Linked DNA regions of Homo sapiens: regions 1 and 2 are each linked to region 3. The links are contacts of gene promoters, found by promoter capture Hi-C in human tissues and cell types (Jung and others, 2019). All regions are on one chromosome and are shown on one strand. The core of a region is centred on a gene start or on the middle of the fragment in contact, and the rest is flanking DNA. Distances in the headings are between cores, read along the strand shown.

Region 1 (4,501 bases), core at 331-2,830, 1.1 Mb after region 3:
AACCGGGGAGGCAGAGGTTGCAGCGAGCTGAGATTGCGCCACTGCACTCCAGCCTAGGCGACAAGAGCAAAACTCCATCTCAAAAAAAAAAGAAAAAAGCTACAAAAATGTAGAAGGCACGGCGGCTCATTCCCGTAAATCCGAGCACTTGGGGAGGCCGAGGCGGGCGGATCACTTGAGGTCAGGAGTTTCAGACCAGCTTGGCCAACATGGTGAAATCCCATTTCTACCAAAAATACAAAAATTAGCGGCGTGGTGGTGGGTGCCTGCAGTCCCACCTACTGGGGAGGCTGAGGCAGAAGAATCGCTTGAACCTGGGGGGGGGCGGGGAGCCAAGATCGCGCCACTGCACTCCAGCCCGGGAGACAGAGCGAGACTCTGTCTCAGAATAATAAATTAAGTAAAATAAAAATGCTGCAAAAATACAGCCCGTTTGTTTTTAAACAGGCGCAACCACATGTAATTCATTTTAAGTTTCTTTTCCCACCCAAGTAAAAATCAAGTCATAAATTAGGAAAAGCATTAACAGAAGTATGTTTCAGCCCCAGCGCGCTGACCTGTGGTTGGAATACCGGCCCTGGAGCCCGGAGGTCGGGGCCCACCCGCCGAGGGAGGTCTGGGCGCTGTCCTGGTCTCCACGGAGCTCGCGCACTCACGGGGCCGAGGCACCAAGGCGACCGGCGCAGAGCCAGCGCCGTCTCCACAACAGGGCAGGGCGCGCAGCTGCGGGGGAGGCCTCGCCCCTCCGCTCCCCTCCCCTGCCCTCCGCCCCGGCCCTCGGGGCGCGGCGTCCCCCACGTGCTCCCCTCACGCGACCGCGAGGGCAGTGGGCGTGCGGCACCCGGGAGCAGGAAACTCCGTGGCCTCTGCGGCTCTGTGGAGAGCTCCCCTCCACCGCCGCAGCCCCCGAGCCCGTGTATCTTCCTGCCTTTAAGGCATCGCAGCCTCCTCGGCCTGGAGGCCCCGGGCTCGCTCCGTGCGGACCCCGCTCCAGAACCCGCCCAGCGCGCAGATGCCGTGTCCCGGCGCAAGGCCAGAGAGGGCGCAACTCTGGACGTGGGGCCGCCACCGAGCCTGCCCTTCCCGGCTCCCGAAAGGCCCCGGGCTCAGAGCCAAGACTGCGCTTGCCCGAGGCCCGTCGGGCCCGCCCTCCCTCGGCGCCCCCAGCGCAGCTGCCCGCCGCCCGACCGGAAGCCCGCACTCGCGCCTGCGCCCCACCCCGTCCGCGCGCCGGCCGCGGCACTGCGGCGGTTACCAGGACGCTGAAGCAGCGCAGCCAATAGCGCCAGCCTGGCGGCGTGCTCCCGGCAGCCAGCCAATGAGACGGCAAATCAATCATTTGAAACACCCAATGGACGGAGCACTGCGGCGCCAGGAGGGGGATTGTGATAGGGAGATAGGAGGCTGCGGCTGACCAATAAAGACCAAACTGGCTTAAAAAGGCGGACCTTAGGCAGCTTGATTGACGGGGGCAAGGCCAATCAAACGAGGGAGCTTGCCAGCCTCGTTCTGGCAGCCCATTCCGAGACTAGCGGAGGCGGGCAGGGAGGGTATATAAGCGTTGGCGGAGCGTCGGTTGTAGCACTCTGCGCGCCCGCTCTTCTGCTGCTGTTTGTCTACTTCCTCCTGCTTCCCCGCCGCCGCCGCCGCCATCATGAGGGAAATCGTGCACTTGCAGGCCGGGCAGTGCGGCAACCAAATCGGCGCCAAGGTAAGTTGCCGGGGCGCTGGGGCCAGGCGGGCCTGCCGGGCGGTGTGGGCGGGCGGCCGGGGAAGATGGCGGCAGCAGCGGCCGGGCGGCGCCCCCGCATTGCGGCCGCCGGGCCCCCTCCGCGGGGAATTGGCCGAGCCGGGCGACCGAAGCCCCCAGGAACCCGGCGGCCAGGGCGCGCGGGGCGGGGGAGGGGCGGGGAGGGCCGGGCTGCCGCGCCCGTCCGGGGCGGGGCTGCCTCCCTGCGCACCGGCCGCGGTGACTCAGCCCCGGCCCGCCCGGGCCCGCCCGCGTCCCTTGTAGTTTTGGGAGGTGATCAGCGATGAGCACGGCATCGACCCCACGGGCACCTACCACGGGGACAGCGACCTGCAGCTGGAACGCATCAACGTGTACTACAATGAGGCCACCGGTGAGGCCCCGGCCCCTTCCCCGACCGCCCTCCGGGGACCCCGCGGCCCCTGCCTTGGCTGACGCCCTCCCGTCCCCGCAGGCGGCAAGTACGTGCCCCGCGCCGTGCTCGTGGATCTGGAGCCCGGCACCATGGACTCCGTGCGCTCGGGGCCCTTCGGGCAGATCTTCCGGCCGGACAACTTCGTTTTCGGTGAGCCGTGGCTGGGGACTGGGCGGCGGCTCAAAGGTCAAGGGGCTGCTCCAAGGGCACCGCCGTGGGAACTGCGCAGCCGGGGCCCCTGGACGCCCTCCTCTTCTCTGAGCCACTCAATCCCCTCTACTAAATCGGCTTTGGGAGCAAGGTCCAGCTGTCTGCCGAGGCGAGGAGCCGCCACACACGTAATCTCCCTGCAGGGAGCTGAGCTGGGGCAGTGGCTGTTCCTCTGTCCTTGGGAATTGGCAGTGGCCCCCCCGGGGAGGGGTTTGTTAAGCTGTCAGGTTTGGCCCCTGACTTAATTCGTAGCAGGGCAGGCTGCCGTCTTTTGGCTTTGAAGGGTCCGTTTGCTCTACCTCCAGGGTGAATTCTGTGGTCAGCTCACACCATGTCACTCGGCTTTTTTCGCATGGCGGTGACCAGTAGTGCTGTCTACCTGGCTGACAAATGATTAGCTGTGTTCTCTCACAGGTCAGAGTGGTGCTGGGAACAACTGGGCCAAGGGGCACTACACAGAAGGCGCGGAGCTGGTGGACTCGGTGCTGGATGTTGTGAGAAAGGAGGCTGAGAGCTGTGACTGCCTGCAGGGTTTCCAGCTGACCCACTCCCTGGGTGGGGGGACTGGGTCTGGGATGGGTACCCTCCTCATCAGCAAGATCCGGGAGGAGTACCCAGACAGGATCATGAACACGTTTAGTGTGGTGCCTTCGCCCAAAGTGTCAGACACAGTGGTGGAGCCCTACAACGCCACCCTCTCAGTCCACCAGCTCGTAGAAAACACAGACGAGACCTACTGCATTGATAACGAAGCTCTCTACGACATTTGCTTCAGAACCCTAAAGCTGACCACGCCCACCTATGGTGACCTGAACCACCTGGTGTCTGCTACCATGAGTGGGGTCACCACCTGCCTGCGCTTCCCAGGCCAGCTCAATGCTGACCTGCGGAAGCTGGCTGTGAACATGGTCCCGTTTCCCCGGCTGCACTTCTTCATGCCCGGCTTTGCCCCACTGACCAGCCGGGGCAGCCAGCAGTACCGGGCGCTGACCGTGCCCGAGCTCACCCAGCAGATGTTTGATGCCAAGAACATGATGGCTGCCTGCGACCCCCGCCATGGCCGCTACCTGACGGTTGCCGCCGTGTTCAGGGGCCGCATGTCCATGAAGGAGGTGGATGAGCAAATGCTTAATGTCCAAAACAAAAACAGCAGCTATTTTGTTGAGTGGATCCCCAACAATGTGAAAACGGCTGTCTGTGACATCCCACCTCGGGGGCTAAAAATGTCCGCCACCTTCATTGGCAACAGCACGGCCATCCAGGAGCTGTTCAAGCGCATCTCCGAGCAGTTCACGGCCATGTTCCGGCGCAAGGCCTTCCTGCACTGGTACACGGGCGAGGGCATGGACGAGATGGAGTTCACCGAGGCCGAGAGCAACATGAATGACCTGGTGTCCGAGTACCAGCAGTACCAGGATGCCACAGCCGAGGAGGAGGGCGAGTTCGAGGAGGAGGCTGAGGAGGAGGTGGCCTAGAGCCTTCAGTCACTGGGGAAAGCAGGGAAGCAGTGTGAACTCTTTATTCACTCCCAGCCTGTCCTGTGGCCTGTCCCACTGTGTGCACTTGCTGTTTTCCCTGTCCACATCCATGCTGTACAGACACCACCATTAAAGCATTTTCATAGTGTGTGGTTTCGCTTTGCCCATTCCTTCCAGTAGGCCCTCCGGGTGCTGTTGCCGAATGTCAGGGCGTAGTTGTCCTGCATGGCTGCGGGGAGCCAGGCTGCAGCTGAGCTGGGCTTATGTGCCCAGGACCAGCATGGGCTGGACACCCAGGCTTCAGAGAAGTGTGGGGCTGCCCTGGGCCCTGGGTATCTGCTTGGTGGGGAACTTGCTTGTTGAAGGCAGGCCTGTCCTGTTCCAGGTACCCAACCTTGGGGCTCGGCCTGTGTCTGGGACTTAGGTGGGTCCAGTGACCCCCCTTCCAAAAGGGGTAGGGAGGATGGCAGACAATCCTACCCCAACCAAGGTGGGACCCTGGTAATGGTCAGACAGGTGGTCCTGAACCAGCAATGAAGGGTGAGCAGGTAGAGCCGTCCCTCCCCACATTGGCCGGGGTGTGTCCATGTGACCCTGCCCACTCTACTCACCGGGGATGAACCCCATGTAGAAGGGGATCAGGCCTTG
Region 2 (4,766 bases), core at 164-2,663, 1.7 Mb before region 3:
TTTCCGTTGCTGTTTATCGATGCTGGTTTTCAGAATTCCTGTGTGGCCCTCCTGTCTGGAGTGACATCTTCATCTGCTCTGAATACTGGTGCCCAGCCAGCCCGTGACAGCTTCCCCCTAATCAGGAGGGGACAGCTGGGGGCGCAAGCTGGTGTGTCATCAGCAAAGACCTCAGCCGCCTCGGGGATGAGAGGGGACTCGTGGGGCAAGCAAGCTGCCCTGTGCTCTGAGTGAGGGGGAAGGTAGCCCCTTTTTCCAAAGATAACTCACAGTTTTGCCCTCGAGCCAATGAGAACATGAGCTGCCCTCTGTGCAAGGTTTCGGGGCCACCTCCAGGCTGCAGGGGCGGGTCACTCACCCCCCTGTTTTCTCTCTGCCTTGGTGTTCTGGTTTCAGACTCCCGACTCCCCGTTCAGACCAGAGTGCCCCGGCCCCTCCCCAGCCTGAGTCTTCTCCTTGCTCTGCGGGGTGGGCTGAGGCTTGTCCTTGTTTCCTGCAGGGCTGGCCCTGGCTCGGGCAGGGTGGGGCATCACCACCTCACTGGCCTTGCTGGAGGCACAGGGCTCTGCGGACCTGCAGCCATCTGTGAGGCCCGCGGGGATGGGAGGGGAGGAGGGTGGCCTGTTGGTTTCCCTCAGAGGGGGCAGGTGGCCTGGAGAGAGAGGGGCTCAGGAACTGGGAGCCTCGTGGGTGGGGCAGATGCTCCGCGGCCTGGAGTGGCTCTGCCGGGGCATTGGTGGGACCCCTGCTCAGGCCTTCTCTCTGGCTGCCAGTTGTGTCTAAAAGACTCTTGGAATCTGAGAACCCGGAGTCGCAGCGCCCTCGGGCCTGGGCCACACGCAGGCCCTGGTGGGACCACCCAGCCTGGTATTGTCCACGGACAGCGTTGTTCACCCAGAGCCTTACTTGGGAGCCTCACTGAACGCCTGCTCTGGTTGAAGGTGGGGTGGGGGCGGGGCTTGGGGCCTCCCTGGCTCAGCCCAGTGCGGCCTGGCGCTCCTCCCGCAGGCTCTGCCCCCGGGCTCCGGTGGTGCGGGGCCCTCTCAGGTTGAACTCGCCTCTTTTGCACTGGAAGGCCCTCCCTTTGGCCTGAGTACTTTTCCCGTTCACGCCTCAGTCCCGTGGACCCAGCCTTTGTCAGTGGCAGGTGCCTGAACAGAGGGTGGATGGGGGGGATACCGGAGGGGGTCTTGTCTTCCCAGCCGCAGTCTAGGAATGATGCGGGGGGGTGGACGCCTTCTCCATAGTCTTTCCCCACCTGGAGCAGGGGCTTCCTCAGTGGTGAGGGGAGCTGCCTACAGGTTGGACCGGGAGGCAGTGGCTTGGAGAGGCAGCTTTCCAGCCTTGGTGGGGAAGAAAGTGTCCATTCTTTGCCTTCCTGGAGCTCCCAGCCAGAGCTGAGCTTAGGCACCCGAGTGGAGCCTGCAGCTGAGTCTGTGCCCGAGACAGGCTGTCAGAGATTCCAGAAGCCTCTCCTCCCCGCCGCCCTCCACCCCTGCCTTTCAGCGTTGTGGATCCCTAGAGGTGGCCCCCTGCCCGATCCACCGTCCTGAGGCAGAGTGTTGAGCCTCATACCTGTACCAGGTCCCCGGCCAGCTGGGCCCCTCCCAGGCACTGCCAGGAAGCCCCAGCTGCCCCTGGCGGGTGTGGTGGAAATGGCAGGAGGGTGCAGGTACTCTTGGGGCCCCAGCGGTGGGAGTGCAAAAGACCCAACGCCAACACCTGGTGCCTTCTGCAGCCAGCGCCCACCCATCCGTGCCCGGACCCTTGGGAATGCCCGCGGCTCCAGAGGAAAAAGCCCAGGGACGGGGCCTCCGTTGCGGGGGGTCGGCTGCTTCTTGGGAACTTTGTCGTTTCCGGCGCTGGCTGGCTGGCTGGCTGGCTGTAAAGCACTGAAGCCCCCCGGCCGCCAACCCCTGAAAGCAGAACCTGGCCTCCCTGGCCACAGCAGCCTTACCCACCGCTCTACGTGTCCCGGGCACTTCCCGCAGCCTTCCCGTCCCTTTCTCATCGGCCTTGTAGTTGTACAGTGCTGTTGGTTTGAAAAGGTGATGTGTGGGGAGTGCGGCTCATCACTGAGTAGAGAGGTAGAATTTCTATTTAACCAGACCTGTAGTAGTATTACCAATCCAGTTCAATTAAGGTGATTTTTTGTAATTATTATTATTTTGGTGGGACAATCTTTAATTTTCTAAAGATAGCACTAACATCAGCTCATTAGCCACCTGTGCCTGTCCCCGCCTTGGCCCGGCTGGATGAAGCGGCTTCCCCGCAGGGCCCCCACTTCCCAGTGGCTGCTTCCTGGGGACCCAGGGCACCCCGGCACCTTCAGGCACGCTCCTCAGCTGGTCACCTCCCGGCTTTGCCGTTCAGATGGGGCTCCTGAGGCTCAGGAGTGAAGATGCCACAGAGCCGGGCTCCCCTAGGCTGCGTCGGGCATGCTTGGAAGCTGGCCTGCCAGGACCTTCCACCCTGGGGCCTGTGTCAGCCGCCGGCCCTCCGCACCCTGGAAGCACACGGCCTCTGGGAAGGACAGCCCTGACCTTCGGTTTTCCGAGCACGGTGTTTCCCAAGAATTCTGGGCTGGCGGCCTGGTGGCAGTGCTGGAGATGACCCCGAGCCCCTCCCCGTGGGGCACCCAGGAGGGCCCTGCCGGAATGTGCAGCCTGTGGGTAGTCGGCTGGTGTCCCTGTCGTGGAGCTGGGGTGCGTGATCTGGTGCTCGTCCACGCAGGTGTGTGGTGTAAACATGTATGTGCTGTACAGAGAGACGCGTGTGGAGAGAGCCGCACACCAGCGCCACCCAGGAAAGGCGGAGCGGTTACCAGTGTTTTGTGTTTATTTTTAATCAAGACGTTTCCCCTGTTTTCCTATAAATTTGCTTCGTGTAAGCAAGTACATAAGGACCCTCCTTTGGTGAAATCCGGGTTCGAATGAATATCTCAAGGCAGGAGATGCATCTATTTTAAGATGCTTTGGAGCAGACAGCTTTAGCCGTTCCCAATCCTTAGCAATGCCTTAGCTGGGACGCATAGCTAATACTTTAGAGAGGATGACAGATCCATAAAGAGAGTAAAGATAAGAGAAAATGTCTAAAGCATCTGGAAAGGTAAAAAAAAAAAATCTATTTTTGTACAAATGTAATTTTATCCCTCATGTATACTTGGATATGGCGGGGGGAGGGCTGGGACTGTTTCGTTTCTGCTTCTAGAGATTGAGGTGAAAGCTTCGTCCGAGAAACGCCAGGACAGACGATGGCAGAGGAGAGGGCTCCTGTGACGGCGGCGAGGCTTGGGAGGAAACCGCCGCAATGGGGGTGTCTTCCCTCGGGGCAGGAGGGTGGGCCTGAGGCTTTCAAGGGTTTTCTTCCCTTTCGAGTAATTTTTAAAGCCTTGCTCTGTTGTGTCCTGTTGCCGGCTCTGGCCTTCCTGTGACTGACTGTGAAGTGGCTTCTCCGTACGATTGTCTCTGAAACATCGTGGCCTCAGGTGCCAGGGTTTGATGGACAGTAGCATTAGAATTGTGGAAAAGGAACACGCAAAGGGAGAAGTGTGAGAGGAGAAACAAAATATGAGCGTTTAAAATACATCGCCATTCAGTTCGTTTGTTCCGTGTGGGGACTTTTTTGTTTGGAGCGGGAGGGCCCGCGATCAGCCCCCACCAGCCCACCCTCCTGTCCACCCTACCTGCCGGTCCTGTGCGGCGAGGCTGGCATCCTCTGTGGGCCATACTCTTGAGAGTTCTCTCCCTGTCCACTGGGCTCTGCTGCTCCTCCAAGGGGCAGGGGGCTGGGGCCTCCGTGAGGGCACCTCTCAGCAGCCGTGGGCACTGGGCCTGTGGGCGCCTGCGGAGCACGAGTGTTCCCACCTGTCCCTCCCCAGGCTGCCTAAGCATCCACGCCTCTGCAGCCACGCTGGCCCAGATGGGCAGGAGGTGCACCCAGAGGGCCAAGGAACACACGATGTCACCCAGCTGCCCCAATAACAACAAGTTAATGATGCCCCATCTGCATTGTCTCCTGTGATAAACGCCCTCTGTCTCCATGCTGTCTGGGGCTGGGCTGCTCCCGGCCTGGTTTGGTCTTCGTGCCCGGAGCCCTCTCATGCACCTGTGTCCAGCCAGGCACCCTCCCCGAGAGGCACCAGACACACTGAAGATGGGGAGTGGGGCTCTGAAGGTCCAGGTCCTGCCCTGTGGTGGTGGGCAGAGGACAGTGTGGCCTGTGCCCAGAGCTAGGGTGGCTCCCGGGTGAGACTTAAAATGGAACGGCCTGCCACCTGAAAGGCAGGGACTTCCTGATGGCACTCCCCTCATGAGCACACACACATTCACACACGTGCATACTCAAACACGGGCACGGACACGCTCACATGGACCCTCGCACCCATTCATACGCATGCACACACCACGTGCTCACACAGATGCTTTGGCATGCACACCCATGCAGAACTGCTCCCGTGCACACACCCATCGCTGCCCTTGCACACACCCATGCATGCTCCCATGCACACACACCCATACAGGCTCAGTTGCACACACCCATACACGCTCCCGTGCACACACCCATACACGCTTTCATATGCACATACATCCATATTCCCATGCACACACACCCATACACACTCCCATGCACACACACCCATACATGCTCCCGTGCACACACACACTCATGAACATACACACTTGCACTCAGCCCTGGAAGGATCGACAGAACAGTGGGGGTCTTGGGTGCGGGGCTGAGCCAGCCTCCCTTGGTGGAGTCAGGAC
Region 3 (4,542 bases), core at 708-3,207:
TTTTTAAAAGTCACCACTAGCCCCCTGCCCAGGGCAGAGCAGCCCTGCGAACCCTTCCAGCAGCCGGTGGTAAAGAACAGAGCCTGTTCTCGCAGCCTGTAGCAGCCCAGCTCCCACTGCTCCCAGCAGGAGATCTCCCGGGTGGCTCCTCCCCGCCTTCCCGCCAGGCCAGGGCCAGCACCATCGAGCCCTGGGTGTGACCACTGCGAAAGGATCCCTGGCCACTAAGAAGTGACAAGTGATATCTTGTTCCACTCTCTGTGCCCATTCCAAGTGGCTTTGCCGAAAGGACAGGGGGCCACCACCTTGGGTGGCAGCTCCTTTTATTTCCTCCCCTTGGACTCTGGCCCAGCTACCACCCAACAGTGACCCCAGGGGAAAACGCCAAGAGGCCTCTTTAAGGGAGGGGCTGGGAAAGGCCCCACAGAGGACCAGAGGGGTGCTCCAACGGTGGCCGGGAGAAGAAGGGGTGGGTGGCTGAGAGGTGGCGGGTGGGGCGGGGGCTGCCTGAACCCTGACCTAACTCTAGGCGCCCCTGCTGGGGGGTGCTACAGGCTAAAACACCCTGCAGAATGCTGAGCTGAGTGTCCCACTGGAGAACAGGAGGGAAGGAGGTCAGGAGCCTGCCAGACGAAAAGAGGGGTGGGTGAGAAGAAGGGGCGACCTGGAGGGACACGGACTCTGGCAGGAGAGTGCGGCCGCGCTGGCGGGCGGGAACACCAAGGTGCACGCGCTCCCGGAGGCAGCTCCACGGGATGGGAGTCCGGGCTGCCTTGGGCACCCCCGGGTCAGCACCCCCGCCACACACAGGAAGGAACGCGCAGCAGAGAACACAGCTCAGGGCACCCAGCGGCCCAGGGAGACGGGCCCACCAGCACGTGGGTGAAACACCTCCAATCCGGAGGCCCCGCGCGGGGGTTGGGGGAGGGAGTGGAACGGCCTGGGAGGCCAACTCCAGGGACCCGGCCTCGCGGCCTTCAGACCCACAGGTTTAAGCGGCTCCACGACGAGAGTCCAAGACCAAACTTCCCCCAGAGCCTGGCAGAGGGGCTGGGAGGTGACCTCTGACCTCCGACCCCACACGATCCCAGCAAGAGAAGCAGGAAACTCCGTCGGAAGGCCTCGGTCCGCCCTGGCCGTGCGGGGTGCGCGGCGGGCCCCGGGCTCCGCTGAGTTTCTTAGAGAAGGAGCTGGGGCCCCCCGACCTCAGCTCCGCAGAGGCACAGAAGCTGGCAAGAGGCAGAGCCCCCTCCCCCTGCGGCCGGACCCCAGTTTCTCCCCAGGCTGGGGCCCGAGTGGGGGAGGCGCGGGAGGCGGTGACGACCCACGAACGGGCCCACCTGGACCGGGAGGGCGAGGCGCGGGCCCGGCTGGGCCAGGCAGCTGCGCAGATGCGCCGGGAGGGGTGGGTACCTCCGCCCTGGCCCCGGGCCAGTCCTGCCCCGGCTTCCCCACCCGGAGGGCTGGATCGGCCAGTCGGGTCCCTGGGGAGGCCGCGCGGGTCCCCAGAAATCCAGGGAAACCCAGCAGGCGGCGGGGAGCGCCCCGGGACGCCCGGAGCCGGGGTCTCCCCGAACGCGCGGCGCGGCGTCCCGGCCCGGGGTCGCGGGCGCCTCCGCCGGGACCCCCCGGCCCCGCCCGGCCCCCCTCCGCGGGCTCCCGAGGCCGGTTCCCGCGCGCACGCCCGGGCCGGCGCGGAACTCGGCCGCACCCGCCCCGCGCGGCCGGCACTGCGGCAGGGGGCTCGCGCCAAGTTGGGCGGCCGCGGAGTTTGCGGGAAGTGCGGGCCCGGCCCGTGGGACGACCCCGCCCGGCGGCGTAACCCGGGGGCGGCCGCGCGCGCCAAGTTGGCGGTACCTGCGGGCGCCCGGCCCGGTCCGGCCTGGGCAGCTGCGGCGCGCCGCCCGCGGCAGGAAGTGCTTGGCGTCCCGGCGCTCCGGCTCCCATGGACTTTCTCCGACCTCGCCCAGCACCGGCGGCCGCACCGCGGCGGGGGCGGGGCGGCGGCGGGGGAGGTGCCCGCGGGCCGTTAAAGGGACAGCGCGCCGGCCGCGCGCGCGCGCGCACTGGCAGCCAGGTGGGCTCCCGGGGTCGGGGCTGGGGTCCGGGGGCCGGGAGGGTCCCCAGTGGGGGCCGGCGGGGCGTGGGGAACCCCGAGCGCTGGGGAGGGGAGGCGGCAGCTCCTCGCCCCTCGCGCGTCCTCCTTCCGGAGCTGCCGGCGGTCGACCCTGCGCGGGACACCCGGCGGGAGCCGGACGCCGCGGCGCAGAGGACGGAGCTCGGCGGCCGGGTCGGGAAAGGACCTGGAGCGCCGCCCTCCGCCCTCCCCGGGCCCCGGCCTCGGCCGGACTCGCTAAGCCCGGGAGAGCCCCCGGGCCCCCCTACCCCGCCCCCGGCGCGCGCCCTGCCCGCGGCAGTCGCGTCCGCACGGTGCAGCCTCCGGGATCCGGGCGGGGGAAGTGCGCGCATCCGCAGCCGCCCTGGACGCTCAGGCGGGCCGTGAAAGACGAGGATACGGGAGCGCCCTTGGGCGAACGTCTGCGGGGCTCCGGCGCCCGTCCCTGCGGCCCGGGAACTGCAAGCTGCCTGGACTGGGCCTGGCGCTGCCTTCAGGCCTGGTGTGATCCGGGCGCACTGGGGCGTTGACAGTCATTCCGGCACCGGCCACGCAGCTCTCCATCTGCCCAAGGCCACGCTCCTGAGGACAGAGGTGCAGTTTTAAAACAAGGGCACGGAAATAAAACGGCCACACACCCGGAAAGACCCAGAGACCCCTCCTCAGCTGCCCCCTAACCTGGGGCCTGAGGTCAGGACAGGCTGCAGTGGTCCTCAGAGGCTAAGCCAGCCTCACTCCCACAGCACGCTCAAGGGTCCTTGCAGGAGAATGGAGTGATACCGCCTCAGTGGTCCCGAGCGAGGGCGCTGGGAGAAGGGTTGAGAAGGAGATGGCCACCAGCATCCCAGAGAACGCCTTTGGGGCTCTGGGGATCAGAAACCTGGGGCTACAGCCCTTCTGGCACAGTCAGCCAAGGTCATTCCCTGGACAAATCATCAGAAGCTTGGCCAGGTTCTTGTCACCCCAACCTCAAGCTAGGCCCTTGATCTTGGCCACAGACTGGCCCTTGACCCCAACTTTAGGTTCTATTCAGCTCTGCGTCCAGAACACACACACACACACACACACACACTTCACTCCCTGGCTTGCCTTGTATGGGGGTGAGTATGGAACCCCGCAGGGACTCTGGGCTCTCCCCACAGAGTCCCATCTAGACCTAAATGCAGTCCCAGGTCCCACACCCCAACCCCCCTCCCCCCACCACTGCCACTTCCAAACCCGCCCCGCAGTCTACTGTGGGAAGGAGGTGGGGTAGGAGGGTTCTGAGTGCCTCCTACACCCAGGGCATGAGCTCAGCAGCCTCAGGGTTCTGGTGCTTCCTAGGCCTGACTTTACAATCTCTGCAGGATCTCTCAGTGAGCATAGCTACCCCAAGCCCCTGAGAATCGTGAATCCCAGAGACAGATGCCTGGAGCTGCTTCCAGCCCTGGGGCAGGCCTCAAGGGGCTACCCACTAGGACCCGTGGCCCTCCAGGGATGGGAATGATTGTTTTAATCACTTTTATTTTCTAAATATTAAAGACATTCTTCCTTAGTGAAGGATATTTGGAAAGCATTGAAAAGTGTTTAGAAGATAGCGGATAAGCAGAAATCAATTCCCCAATTTCTGTGTGCCTATACGTATGTACACCAACATATATTTGCACCTTTTAAAGCAAACCCTGCATCCCTACTGAATTCCAGGCCCGTGCTACTGAGTATGTACACCTTACCGCATTTAACGTTCACAACAGTACCATGAGGTGAGCTCTGTTTATTCCTTTTTTTTTTTTTTTTTTTGAGTCCGAGTCTCACACTGTTGCCCAGGCTGGGGTGCAGTGGCGCGATCTCAGCTCACTGTAACCTCTGCCTCCCGGGTTCAAGCGATTCTCCTGCCTCAGCCTCCCGAGTAGCTGGCATTATCGGCACGTGCCACCACGCCCAGCTAATTTTTGTATTTTTAGTAGAGACGGGGTTTCACCATGTTAGGCAGGCTGGTCTTGAACTCCTGACCTCAGGTGATCCACCTGCCTCAACCTCCCGAAGTGCTGGGATCACAGGTGTGAGCCACTGCGCCCAGCCTTATTCCCGTTTTACAGCTTAGCCTGGGGCTCACTCAGGGGTCCCCAGCAGGGCCTGGGCTGAGTGGGGCTCACCCCGGGTGCATCCTCCGCATCTCCTCCCTGCATTTGATCTTGTTGATTCCTGGCTGCTACAAGGGCCTGGGGGCCACAGTCTCAACTGAGCATAGCAGCACCGCTGCTATGGGTCTCCAGCTCAGGGAGGCCCCATCCGGGATCCAGGCCTGAGTTCTCACGGCCTTGCAACTTGATTTTTCCCCTTCCATCCAGAAAGCATTGGGCAGGGGGTAAGGGGAGGTCACAAGCCACATCTGCAGACACTGCAGAGCCCCTGGGTGCGCTCAGGAGTCATACACAGAGGACCAA

What was found. The method cuts DNA at HindIII sites, captures the fragments that hold promoters and counts their contacts. A contact is called where the count stands out against the background at its distance.
Region 1: the fragment with the promoter of TUBB4B here is called in contact with the fragment with the promoter of NACC2 in region 3 in 1 of the 25 tissues and cell types used here (spleen).
Region 2: a contact is called between a fragment that was not itself captured here and the fragment with the promoter of NACC2 in region 3, in 1 of the 25 tissues and cell types used here (lymphoblastoid cells).

Annotation. Positions count from the first base shown.
Region 1 is chr9:137,239,707-137,244,207 of GRCh38, forward strand. It overlaps TUBB4B (tubulin beta 4B class IVb), which reads left to right and starts at 1,581. Exons shown (of 4, transcript NM_006088.6): 1 at 1,581-1,711; 2 at 2,015-2,123; 3 at 2,205-2,315; 4 at 2,790-4,001. The coding sequence starts at 1,655. The coding sequence ends at 3,850. It overlaps CIMIP2A (ciliary microtubule inner protein 2A), which reads right to left. Exons shown (of 7, transcript NM_001001710.3): 6 at 4,465-4,501; 7 at 3,893-4,082. The coding sequence ends at 3,994. RefSeq lists silencers at 606-1,425, 1,756-1,985. The HindIII fragment of the contact is 17,682 bases long and covers 136-4,501 here.
Region 2 is chr9:134,436,982-134,441,747 of GRCh38, forward strand. It overlaps RXRA (retinoid X receptor alpha), which reads left to right. Exons shown (of 10, transcript NM_002957.6): 10 at 1-3,604. Among named protein-coding and RNA genes, the nearest start is that of MIR4669, 60 kb to the left of the region's middle. RefSeq lists an enhancer at 1-549. The HindIII fragment of the contact is 5,892 bases long and covers 1-4,359 here.
Region 3 is chr9:136,093,332-136,097,873 of GRCh38, forward strand. NACC2 (NACC family member 2) reads right to left here and starts at 1,958. Exons shown (of 6, transcript NM_144653.5): 1 at 1,858-1,958. RefSeq lists an enhancer at 1-665 and silencers at 1,871-2,000, 2,321-2,420. The HindIII fragment of the contact is 19,137 bases long and covers 1-4,542 here.